Regions from separate parts of the Homo sapiens genome. Here region 2 is linked to region 1. Evidence: promoter capture Hi-C in human tissues and cell types (Jung and others, 2019). All regions are on one chromosome and are shown on one strand. Each heading gives the region's core, a stretch centred on a gene start or on the middle of the fragment in contact. The rest is flanking DNA. Distances are from core to core; before and after follow the strand shown.

Region 1 (5,657 bases), core at 1,795-4,294:
ATTGCTTCTCTTTTTGTTAGACATCTGTTCCCTCTCTAGCCAAGGCCTGGGACTCCTGCTTCAGGAAACAATATGGCTTACTGTGCCCAGCTCCATGGTGGCAAGGGAAGAGGAAGAATGCCTCCTAGATATCAAGCACCTGGCCCCGCCTCTTGTCTAGGTTTCTCCAGTCAAGGAGTTCAGCTTTCAAAAAGCTTGGATGACCCTCTTGAGGTCCAGGATGTAGTGACATAAGATCCAGGGAGGTCAACACCATCTCACTCGACCATCCTCTTTACCAACTCTCAGCAGCTTTTCTATTCCCCCTGAATTCTCTCACTGAGCAGGATGAGGGAGTGCTGCCTGCATGTTGGACAGAGAGACCCACCTCAGTCACTATACTCTTCTCTTTCCCTTGGACTGTGGAATTTCTCATACTGGTTGGCCAGTTTCCACTTGTTGTGCTGACTTTTGAGTAGTGCAGCGAAGGAAGTTTTTCGGGTGACACTTCTAGATATTTCCTTGCTCTTGGCCTTTCTGGTAGGGGAAGAACTTCCAACTAAGGGATAGACAGGGAAAATGGGCTTGCCCCGAGGAGCTCCCAACAGCTGCCATATTTCCCCAGAGGTATTACTGGTTAGATACTGCCATGGCTTCTTCCCACTGCTGTCCCTGACATTTACCCGAGAAGCCAACCTTTGCACTAGCAATTTGATGACCCCCTGGTGGCCGTGAATGGCTGCAAGGTGCAGCGGGGTATATCCACAACTGGACCTCACGTTTACATCAAGGACAATCCCTGCCTTCTTTGCTCCAGACACCAAGTCCTGAAGGGCCCTGAGGTCACCATGTTTGGCTATCCAGTGCAACGCAGTGTACCCAGTCAAAAAGTCTTTGTGCAAGGCCAGTTGAGGGTCCTCCCAGAACAAAGTCCACACCTGAATCCAGGAGCCACTGGCAAGCTTCACAATCCACTCATGCTCCCTGGCATCTAGTGGAACCAGGGATGATTTGTGCTCAGAAGTTCTGTGGGGGGCCAAGGCTGCAGACCCCTCCCCACTGGGGACCCACAGGCTGTGTCGCCAACCCCGCTCGGCCACAACAGCCTTAACCTCTGCAAGTTTTAGTGATAAACCTGCATCAACCCTTGGGCTGGGTGCCGTTCCTGCCTTGGAGGGCTTCCTGGATCGAGGTGGGCGCCGACTTCTTTTCAGCAAGCCCTCATCGAGGTACTCCTCATCAGAGGAGGACAATTTGGCTCTCCCTGCCAGAGAGCTCCTCCTGAGGGACCTCCTTAACTTAGGAACTGGCCAAGGCAAAGGCTTCAGGGGGTGGCCTGCAAGGCCATTAGCCCCTGCAGGGACCTGCTGAGAGATGTGACCATCCCCTCTGTTTCTGAGACCCTGAGGGCTCCGGCTGGGGCTGCCCTCCTTCCGAGATACAGAAAGGCCCCCAGCTGGATTCCTGAGCTTCCCCCTATCTGGGGTTCCCAAGACAACCTGCAGCCCCTCTTCAGAAGCCCCCGGGGAGTCTTTGGGCCCACTGCTGCTCTCCTCACTGCCATCACTCTCCTGGTCCACAAAGTCATCCAGATCTTGGAGGGACAGCTGACAACGAATGCTGCGAAAGACAGTCAATGAAGGGTTCCCCGCCCAGGATTCCCAGGACTCATCCGGAACAACAGGAAAGAGAGAGTGCGAGGAAAGACAGGGGTCTGGCGGCTCTGAATTAGGCTCCGTGGAGCCGGGTTCCAAGGGCAGCTGGAGGAAGTTGTCTGGCAGCACCGACCAGGCGCGGATAGGGCCCTGATCACGGGCCTCGGGCACCTGCGGGTGCCTGGCCACCCACTCTCGAGTGCGCTGCTGCTGCTGCTGCAGGGTCGAATAATGCAGGGAGCTGGGGGTCAGCAGCTCCGGCCGGTCTCCGCGGGGAGCGGGGCCGGGCAGGAGAGCAGGCGGGGAAGCCCTGCTTGTCGCAGCCTCGACGGTGGCGGGAGGCGAGTGAGCCACTGCAGGCACAGGCGCCGGCTCAGCTAGCGCGCCTTCTTCCCGCTCCCTGGAAGCCCCGCGGTCATCCTGGGCAGGCAGAGCCCGTGCCGGCTTCTCCTCCGCGGTGGCCGAGTGCGGGAGTGCGCCGAGCTCTCCCGGCAGTACAGCCAGGTTGTTCTGGAGGCATTCCCAGCAGCAGCGGCCCTGCGTCTTCGCCGCCGCGCAGCTCGCTCTCGCCTGGGCCCCTGCCGCTGCAGCTGCGGGCACCGGCGGCCTCTGTCCGGGACTGCCCTTCGATCCGCCGCCCTTCCCGGGCGCCCTACGGGAGTCGCTGCCCGGGAGTCCATTGCAAGCTGCGTCGGCGGCTCTGGCTGCTGCACCTGCTGGCTCCTCCTCCGGCTCCTTCTCGCGCCGCCGCCGCCTGGGCTGCTGCTGGGGCGGCTCCCCCCGGCGCGCGCCTCGCGGGGAGCAGGGCGCAGCTCCCCCTGCACTGGGGGCGGCCGCGGGCGGCTCGCGGGGTCGCTGCAGCCCCTCCTCCCCCAAAAGGTCCCTGTATCTCCTCTTGAGCACCACGTACTTGGTGCCGTCGGGGTCCTGGCGCACTGCGGCGACCGAGTTGACGAAGCCCTTGAAGAGCTCGCGGCGGTGCTGGTGCTGGCTGGGGGACGCGTCGGGGTCTCGGAGAAAGCTCTTGAAGTGGCTCAGCAAGGCAGCGTTGGTCACGCGGCCCCCAGCCTGGCACAGAAAGTCCAGTAGTGCCTCCTGGCTCAGCTCTCGGGCCATCGCTGCCTTGTCCTCCGCCCCAGAGGTGTCTGAGTCTCGCCCTCCCGGGGCTCTCCCCAGCCAGAGGAAACCCTGGCCGGGCGAGTGTCACCTGCGCCCGGGGCGGCACTAGCCGCCCCCATCAGCCGCGGAGGCCAGCGCTGCCCGCAGCCCGTGAGCGCGCCAGGAGGGCCGTGGGTCCCCTCCGGGTGGCCCCAAGGCTGAGTCCCCGCGGCAGTCTGCGTGAGAGAGGGCGGCTCCGAGGCCGCCCCTGCGCGACTCTAGCCTCTCGCAACGAGTCCTCACAGCGAAAGTTCCCGGGATAGGGCCGAGTCGGTTTCACCTGCGCCCTGGCGGCACCTCCTCCCTGCCTCTGGGGGAAGGGTCAGGCCCGCCTCCTCGTGTCCCTCCGCCCCCTGAGGTCTCCCCCACCCCCTGCCACCCATCCCAGAAGAGTCAGGCCGGAGAGCCAGCCGGTAGGTGAGGTTGGCGGCGAACCGAGCCGGCAGCGAACTGCTCTGCGGCCGGGGAAGTGGAAGGCAGGTAGGCGACCGGCCGTTCCTCTAAGTCTCCGCCACGCAGGAAACAAAAGCGATAGAAGGTCCGTTCCTGTCCTCCGGTGCTTTGATGAGTTCAGGCTGAAGCCGATGGGGGAGGAGGAGAAGCTGCAAGTTAACAGGCAATCTGAGTTATCTTTCTTTATTAACGCTGTAGAGGAGTACTTCAGATTTCTCGAGGCTGTATTGAGGTCCGCAAAACTCACTTTGCATCCAAACTAAATTTTTCTTAATATAGAAATACTTTCTGGGCCGCTTCTCCGGCGCCCCCTCCAAGGGGTCCGAATACATCCAAGTCTATACTGAAAAGAGAAATCACTCTGAAAATTACTACTGGGCAATATTGGTTTGGGACTTTTTCTTTCATACTTGTCTTTCCTTCATACTTGTCTCACATTAAGGTGCTGGAAAAAAAAAATCACTTTGATAGCTTCTTGCCCCCGGCGGCTAAAATGAACTAGGAATTATGTCTCGCCAGTTAAGGTATTTGATGTGTAGCATTAGTTTGCTTTTATTTACTCTAAAATTTGTGAACAGCAGAGATTTGTACAGTGTTTTGTATTGGCTTGGTGAAGTGCTTCCTTTCAGAATGTAAGGTTCAAAATGCAGACTAGAGCTGTCTTTAACAGCACCTTTTCCCCCTAACAGCTGGGATCCCTCTTCCTTTTTCTCTCTCCACATGTTGACCCTTCTGTCTTTGATGTGAGATCCTGGATGTCCCTCACTGTTCCTTATCAGTCCTGTTGACATGCCTGAGATAGTTTTCACTGTCATTATCTCTTTACCTGTTTTAGTTCCAAGCCTTCTCTCATTCTTTTCTTTAACTTGGCCTTCCCATTTCTTTCTGTTACACGACATCCTTGTTTACCTTCGGCCTCTACTGACAGGAAATATGTCTGTTTCTCAGATCCTCTCATGTCCACTGTATTTCCCATTCAAAAACCTCGATTTTCTCCTTCCCTGTAATTTGCCTCTCTTTTCTCATGGACTCTTCTCATCTTTTCACTTTTCCTTTTGCTCTTCTATTTCTGATTACTCATAGTTCCTATACTTCTCGCCAAGAAAGAGTATTGAAAGTATGTGTGTTGGCCCTACAATTGTTGACAAAGACATGTTTTAGCATGGACCAATCTTAGTGACTGCCCTATAGACCACATTAACTGAGCTTGATTTTAAATCCCCAAAAATACCCTAGCACTTTTCCAGGAATGAATCTTTGGTTTTACATTATCTAGGTCAGAAAAAAAGAACTGGAAACATTTTTGTCTATTTTTGGCATTTTCTAGGATCCAAACCCAATACTGGGTTGAGAGAGGGATAGTGGTTTTCACTGATGTCTCTACATAACATCAAGCCTTTAGGATAGTTTTTAAAATTAAGGTTTTGTATTAAATTTCAGCTTTCTTTTGAGTTTATTTGCTGGTATAGAGTCTTGTTGGGACTGAGTAAGGTGAGTCCATACCTAAGGCAGGAGGAACACCAAATGAAAGACTCAAGTGGGCATTTTAGAATGGCAAGTGGAAAGAATCCCTCTTTGCTACTTTTTAAAACATCTGGTTACAAAATAAGGGGCTAACTGCAAAAGAGAGCCATAATATGGACTGAGGTTTCGACTCAAAGGAAATAAAAAGACTAGAGTGAAAGAAAGTGGAGGGCCAGGTGAGGGGAGATTATAAAGCATCTGTTTGTTGAAATCAGATCATTTTTAGTTGAGGGTGGAATTAATAGGATTGGAGCCAAAAAGAAGAAAAAAAAATCTGATTGCTTTAGATTTCTGGATTCCCAGGTACTTTGGTGTCCAGACCTTCTCCTCTCTCTCTCTCTTGTCCCAGGATAAAGAGGTGGTTAATTGGAAAGCTCTTTACATTATCTCAGGGAGAATTTTCCTGCCTCCCACATATACAGTTCATTATTTCCAAAAATATTTATGAAGCTCCTACATTACCCTGACACTGTTGGAAATGGGTATAAAGAAGAAAGTGTACTTGAGAATTCACTATTTCTCTCTATTTAGTAAGGAGCAACAAGAGAAATGGCATGAACCTGAGTGCTAAGTGATTTAACAGAGACATGCACCACATACTGGTGAAGTTGAGGGGAGGTGCATAAAGGAAGAACTCAGGCTCAGCTTGGGGGATCAGGACAATTTTCCAGTAAGAGCTAACTTTGGGGCTGGGCGCGGTGGCTCACAGCTGTAATCCCAGCAGTTTGGGAGGCTGAGGCGGGCGGATCACGAGGTCAGGAGATCGAGACCATTCTGGCTAACATGGTGAAACCCCATCTCTACTAAAAATACAAAAAAATTAGCCGGGCGTGGTGGCGGGCGCCTGTAGTCCCAGCTACTCGGGAGGCTGAGGCAGGAGAATGGCGT
Region 2 (5,629 bases), core at 2,748-5,247, 58 kb before region 1:
ATGTTGTTCAGGCTGGTCTTGAACTCCTGGCCTCAGGTGATCCACCCTCTTTGGCCTCCCAACTTGCTAGGATTGCAGGCATAAGCCTAGGATTTCAGGCCCAGCCTGGCCCCATATTTCTATATACTATAAAAAAACTACCAATGCACCAAACAGGATGTGTTTCATGAGCGTGGACTGATGATTAGATGAGCCTAATAATGATGATAATAATAGCTAGCCATGTTAGGCATCTGCTGAATGTCATGCACCACCCAGATGCTTTGCAAATAGCTTGGTCATTGAATCTACACAACAACCCATTATTATTATTTTCAAGTAATTACAAGCAATTACATTACTTACCCAATGTCACATGGCTCATAAATTCCAGGGCAGGGATTTGAACTCAGCTCCGTGTAACCCCAAGCCCAGGCTCTGGCCAATGTGGTTGTGGAATCTCTGATTACAGAATGTTCACCAGAACAGCAGGTCCAGATTCTAAAATTAATCGTTATGCTCTCTCTTAAGGAGTTACTCAAGCCTTTCCCAAATTTTACAAGGGATTTGAAATGCATGCCTACTTCTCTCCCCTTTTTGGAGAGTTCCAGGTTTCTCAAGAAAAGCAGGATTCATAGACTCTGCTGGGACACCTGTCAGTGGGACCTTTACATGAGCCCTGGGGATCCCAAGGCACAGAGAAAAGGACTACTGACCTCTTAGAGAAGACCCAGTCTTGCCTCAGACACTGATGGCTATTTGGTTTTGAAAACCTTTTTTCCCTGGATTCCTGGGAACTGATTTGGAAAATAATACCATGCTTTCTGAAGGGCATCACATAGGAAACAGATGCTCAAAGTCAGCTTGGGTTCATGTTCTTTTGTGGTAGATAATTTCTTGGCTCACCTCTTTGCCTGAGGCATTGCTACCCAGTTGATGCTTGGTGGGGACTGAGTCCCAATGAAACAACTGAGGACAAGAGACCTTCTGAGCGGGGAACTTGGAGGAGACAACATCTGGCTTCCCAGGCAGCAGGCAGAAGCCCTTGGGAGAAGCCAGCCTTGGTCAGTGGGTGGTGTCATTGGCTGCCAGTCTTGGCTGGCTGAGAGCCCAATCCTTGTACCAAGGCTTTCAGCATGATGGATGGTGGCAGGCTGGTGGGGCCACTGCACAGTGGTGACCAGAGGGAGTGCGTGGCATGGCTCTGACTCAGGGGGCCCATGGGAGGAAGGAAACTGGATGGCCAAGAAACTTCTGGTGTTTCAGAACCTAGGATGAGAAACTCTGTTCCTCGTCAATTGGAAACCATAGAAGATAAACTGCATTTCCCCCAATCTGCTAACTGACCCAGGAGTGCCCTTTTTCCAAGAGTTACTTTTGGCTGCCCTTTGACCACTGAACACATAAGTCTTTCAGCATACCATGAGGTCAACCTTTTAACTCTCTTTCAGGATCGTGTGGGGAAGTGAATAATGTCAGGGGCTAGGAGGTTGTGGCAAAGGGGAGTATGTTTCATCAGGGCTTTTCTCTTTTTGAAGTTGATTGATTTTCTATGTTGAATTTAAACAAACCACCAATAGACTTTTGAACTATATGTATGAACTTTCTAGCTATATCCATTAATAGCCTATCTTATTGACCAAGAAAAGTTCTAGCATTGCCCCAAGATCTTCAACTCTCTGGTCTCACTCCGTCACCCAGACTGGAGTGCAGTGGTGCAATCATAGCTCACTGCATCCTCGAACTCCTTGGCCTCAAGTGGTCCTCTGGCCTCAGCCTCCCAAGTAGCATCAACTTTCTTTCATTTGAGCCATGAGAACCAATTGTAAGTCTCAACCCAGAAAAATCATATAAGATTTAAGAAACGATAAAAGCTAACCCTTACATAGTGTCAGGCATGGATCTTAACAAAATAATTTAATCTTCACAAAAACCCTATTATCCTGATATTACAGAAGAAGAAACTGAGGCACAGAAAAGTTAAGGAATTTGGTCAATCTCACACAGCTAGTGGGTGAAGGAGCACATATTCCAACCCTAGCAGCCTGACTCCAGAGCCCAGGATCTGAGACATTCTGCTCCATTTCTTGCTATATCTTAGTTACCTGTGTCTTTAAAGAATTTCCTGATTTCACCTAAATTGTCAAATGTATTGTCATAAATGTTCATAGTCTGTAGTGCTAGCACTTCTTTCATTTCTAATGCTGGTAATGCGTGTTCGCTCCCCCCACCTTTTTTGTTCAGCTCAGCTAAAGATTTATCAATTATATTGAACCTTCAAAAAAAAAAACCCAACTTTTGTTTTAACTGGGCTTTCTATTTTTGCCCATTTTTATTTCATTGATTTCTGTTCTTTATTATTTCCTGCCTTCTACTTGCTTTGAGCTTCTTTTAATCTTTTAGCTTCTTGAGGTGGAATGCTTAGATGTTGATTTTGGAACTAACTTTTTTTATAATGTAGACATTTAAAGCTATAAATTTCCCTCTAAACACTGTTTAATTGAATCCTGCAAATTCTGACATTTTATATTTCATTGTCATTCAAGTGGAAATATTTCCTTGTCATTCAAGTGGAAATATTTCCTTTTTTCTTTCTTTCTTTTTTTTTTCTTTTTTTTTTTGAGATGGAGTTTCGCTCTTGTTGCCCAGGCTGGAGTGCAATGGCGCAATCTTGGCTCAACACAACCTCCGCCTCCTGGGTATAAGCGATTCTCCTGCCTAAGCCTCCCGAGTAGCTGGGATTACAGGCATGTGCCACCATGCCTGGCTAATTTTGTATTTTTAGTAGAGACAGGGTTTCTCCATGCTGGTCAGGCTGGTCTTGAACTCCTGACCTCAGGTGATCCACCCGCCTCGGCCTCCCAAAGTGCTGGGATTACAGGCGTGAGCCACCATGCCCAGCCTCAAGTGGAAATATTTTCTAACTTCTCTTCTAATTTCTATTTTTTTTTTTTAGAGATAGAGTCCCGCTCTGTCACCCAGGCTGGAGGGCAGTGGTGCCTTCTCAGCTCACTACAACCTCCGCCTCCTGGGTTCAAGCAATTCTCTTGCCTCAGTCTCCTGAGTACTGGGATTACAGGCGCACACCACCACATCCAGCTAATTTTTTTTTTTTCCTGTATTTTTAGTAGAGACGGAGTTTTGCCGTGTTGGCCAGGCTGGTCTCAAATTCCTGACCTCAGGTGATCTGCCTGCCTCAGCCTCCCAAAGTGCTGGAATTACAGGTGTGAGCCACTGCGCCCAGCCTAGAAGTGCCTTGTTTAATTTCCAAATATTTCAGAGATTTTATAGATACATTTTTCTCATTTAATTGTATTACATTATCATCAGAAGATATACTTCTTTTAAATTTATTTAGACTTACTTCATAACCTACCCTATGGTCTCCCTTGATGAATATTCCGTATGTACTTGGAAAGAATATGTATTCTGCCACTGTTAGGTGTAGTGCTTATCTATGCCAACTGGGTTATGTTGGTAGATAGTGTTTTTTTTTCAAATCTATATCCTTACTGGTTATCTATTTATTTTATAAATTATTAAAATCTCTAACTATAATTGTGGCTTTGTCTATTTCAGTTCTGTCAGTTTTTCATGTATTTTGAATATGTTATTAAATGCATACACATTTAGAATAGCTACACACACACACATATATCATTATGAAGTGACCCTTTTTTCATTATGAAATGTCCCTCTATTGTTGATGATAGTTATGTCCTAAAGTTCACTTTCATATAGCTATATAGCTTTTTTTTTTCTTTTGAGATGGAGTTTCACTTTGTCACCCAGGCTGGAGTGCAGTGGCACGATCTCGGCTCACTGCAACCTCCACCTCCCAGGTTCGAGTGATTCTCATGCCTCAGGCTCCCGAGCAGCTAGGACTACAGGCACCTGCCACCATGCCCAGCTAATTTTTGTATTTTTAGTAGAGATGAGGTTTCACCATATTGGCCAGGCTGGTCTCTAACTCTTGACCTCAAGTGATCCACCCACCTCGGCCTCCCAAAGTACTGGGATTACAGGCATGAGCCACTACACCCGGCCAGCTTTCTCTTGATTAATATTTGCATGGTGTATTTTGATTCATTTATTTTAAAACTCCGTCTTTACATTAGTTTCTTCTTCTCTTCTCTTCTTCTTTCTTTCTCTTCTCTTCTCTCTCTCTCTCTCTGTCTCTCTTTCTCTCTTTCCAGTGGTACAATCACAGCTCACTGCAGCCTCAACCTCCTGTGCTCAAGCAATCTTCCCACCTCAGCCTCCACCGTAGCTAGGACTACAGGCACATGCCACCATGCCTGGCTAGTTTTTTGGATTTTTTTTTTTTTTTTTTTTTTGTAGAGATAGGGTCTCACTCTGTTGCCCAGGCTGGTCTTGAACTCTTGGGCTCAAGTGTTCCCTTCCTCCTCGGCTTCCCAAAGTGCTAAGATTACTCAGCCTCTGTTTTTGTATTTAGAGTGTGTTTCTTTTAGAAGACATGTATGTGTCTTGTTTTTTTTTCCTATCTGATAATCTCTGCTTTTAATTGATGCATTTAGTCCATTTATATTTAATGCAATTGTTGAATTTATAGCAACCATTTTGCTTTTTGTCTCAGCTCTTCTTTGTTCACTTTTTTCTGTTTCCTATTTTCTTTTTTTTTTTTTCTTTTTTCGAGACAGAGTCTCACTCTGTCACCAGGCTGGACTGCAGTAGCACGATTTCAGCTCACCGCAACCTCCACCTCCTGGGTTCAAGCGATTCTCCTGCCTCAGCCTCCCAAGTAGCTGGGACTACAGGTGCACACCACCAGGCCCAGCTAATTTTTGCTTTTTTAGTAGAGACAGGGTGTCACCATGTTGGCCAGGATGGTCTCGATCTCTTGACCTCGTGATCCGCCTGCCTCAGCCCCCCAAAGTGCTGGGATTACAGGCGTGAGCCACCATGCCTGGCCTCTTTTGGATTTTTTTTATTTAATGTCCCTCATTGGTTTATAACTTATTTATTTTATTTTATTTTATTTTTTATTATTTATTTATTTATTTTGGCAATACATACGGTCTTGCTCTGTCATCCAGGCTGGAGTGCAGTGGCACCATCTAGGCTCACTGCAACCTCCGCCTCCCAGGCTAAAGAAGTGATCCTCCCACCTCAGCCTTCTGAGTAGTTGGGACTACAGGCATTCACCACCATGCCTGGCTAGTTTTTGTATTTTTTCTAGAAATAGAGTTTTGCGATGTTGCCCATACTGTTCTGAAACTCCTGGACTCAAGCAAATCTGCCACCTCAACCCCCGAAACTGTTGTGATTACAGGCATGAGCCATTGCACCCGGCCAGTTTATACATCTTTAGTCTATTTTTATGGTGATTGCTCTAGGGTTTACAATATGCATCCTTATCTTATCACAGTCTACCTTCAAATAAAATTGTACTGCTGCATATATCATATTAGACCTTTATAACAATCTGATTTCCCTACTCTGCCTTTGTCATACCTTTTACTTATACATATGTTATTGAACCCAGCTCCATTGGTATTATTTTTTAATACTTGTATCCTCACTATATGTTAATTCCTTAACATATTCACAATATAATTCTCTTAAAGTTCTTGGCTGCTAATTTCATTGTTTATATCATTTCTGGGCCCATTTCTATTCATTGGTTTTC

The links. Contacts are between HindIII fragments. The study calls those that stand out against the background at their distance.
Region 2: a fragment that was not itself captured here is called in contact with the fragment with the promoter of SOWAHB in region 1 in 2 of the 25 tissues and cell types used here (IMR-90 fibroblasts and mesendoderm cells).

The regions. Positions count from the first base shown.
Region 1 is chr4:76,895,100-76,900,756 of GRCh38, forward strand. SOWAHB (sosondowah ankyrin repeat domain family member B) reads right to left here and starts at 3,045. Exons shown (of 1, transcript NM_001029870.3): 1 at 1-3,045. The coding sequence starts at 2,750. The coding sequence ends at 369. RefSeq lists silencers at 2,396-2,505, 2,766-3,065, 3,136-3,205. The HindIII fragment of the contact is 8,540 bases long and covers 568-5,657 here.
Region 2 is chr4:76,835,926-76,841,554 of GRCh38, forward strand. No RefSeq gene overlaps it. Among named protein-coding and RNA genes, the nearest start is that of SHROOM3-AS1, 36 kb to the left of the region's middle. The HindIII fragment of the contact is 6,566 bases long and covers 715-5,629 here.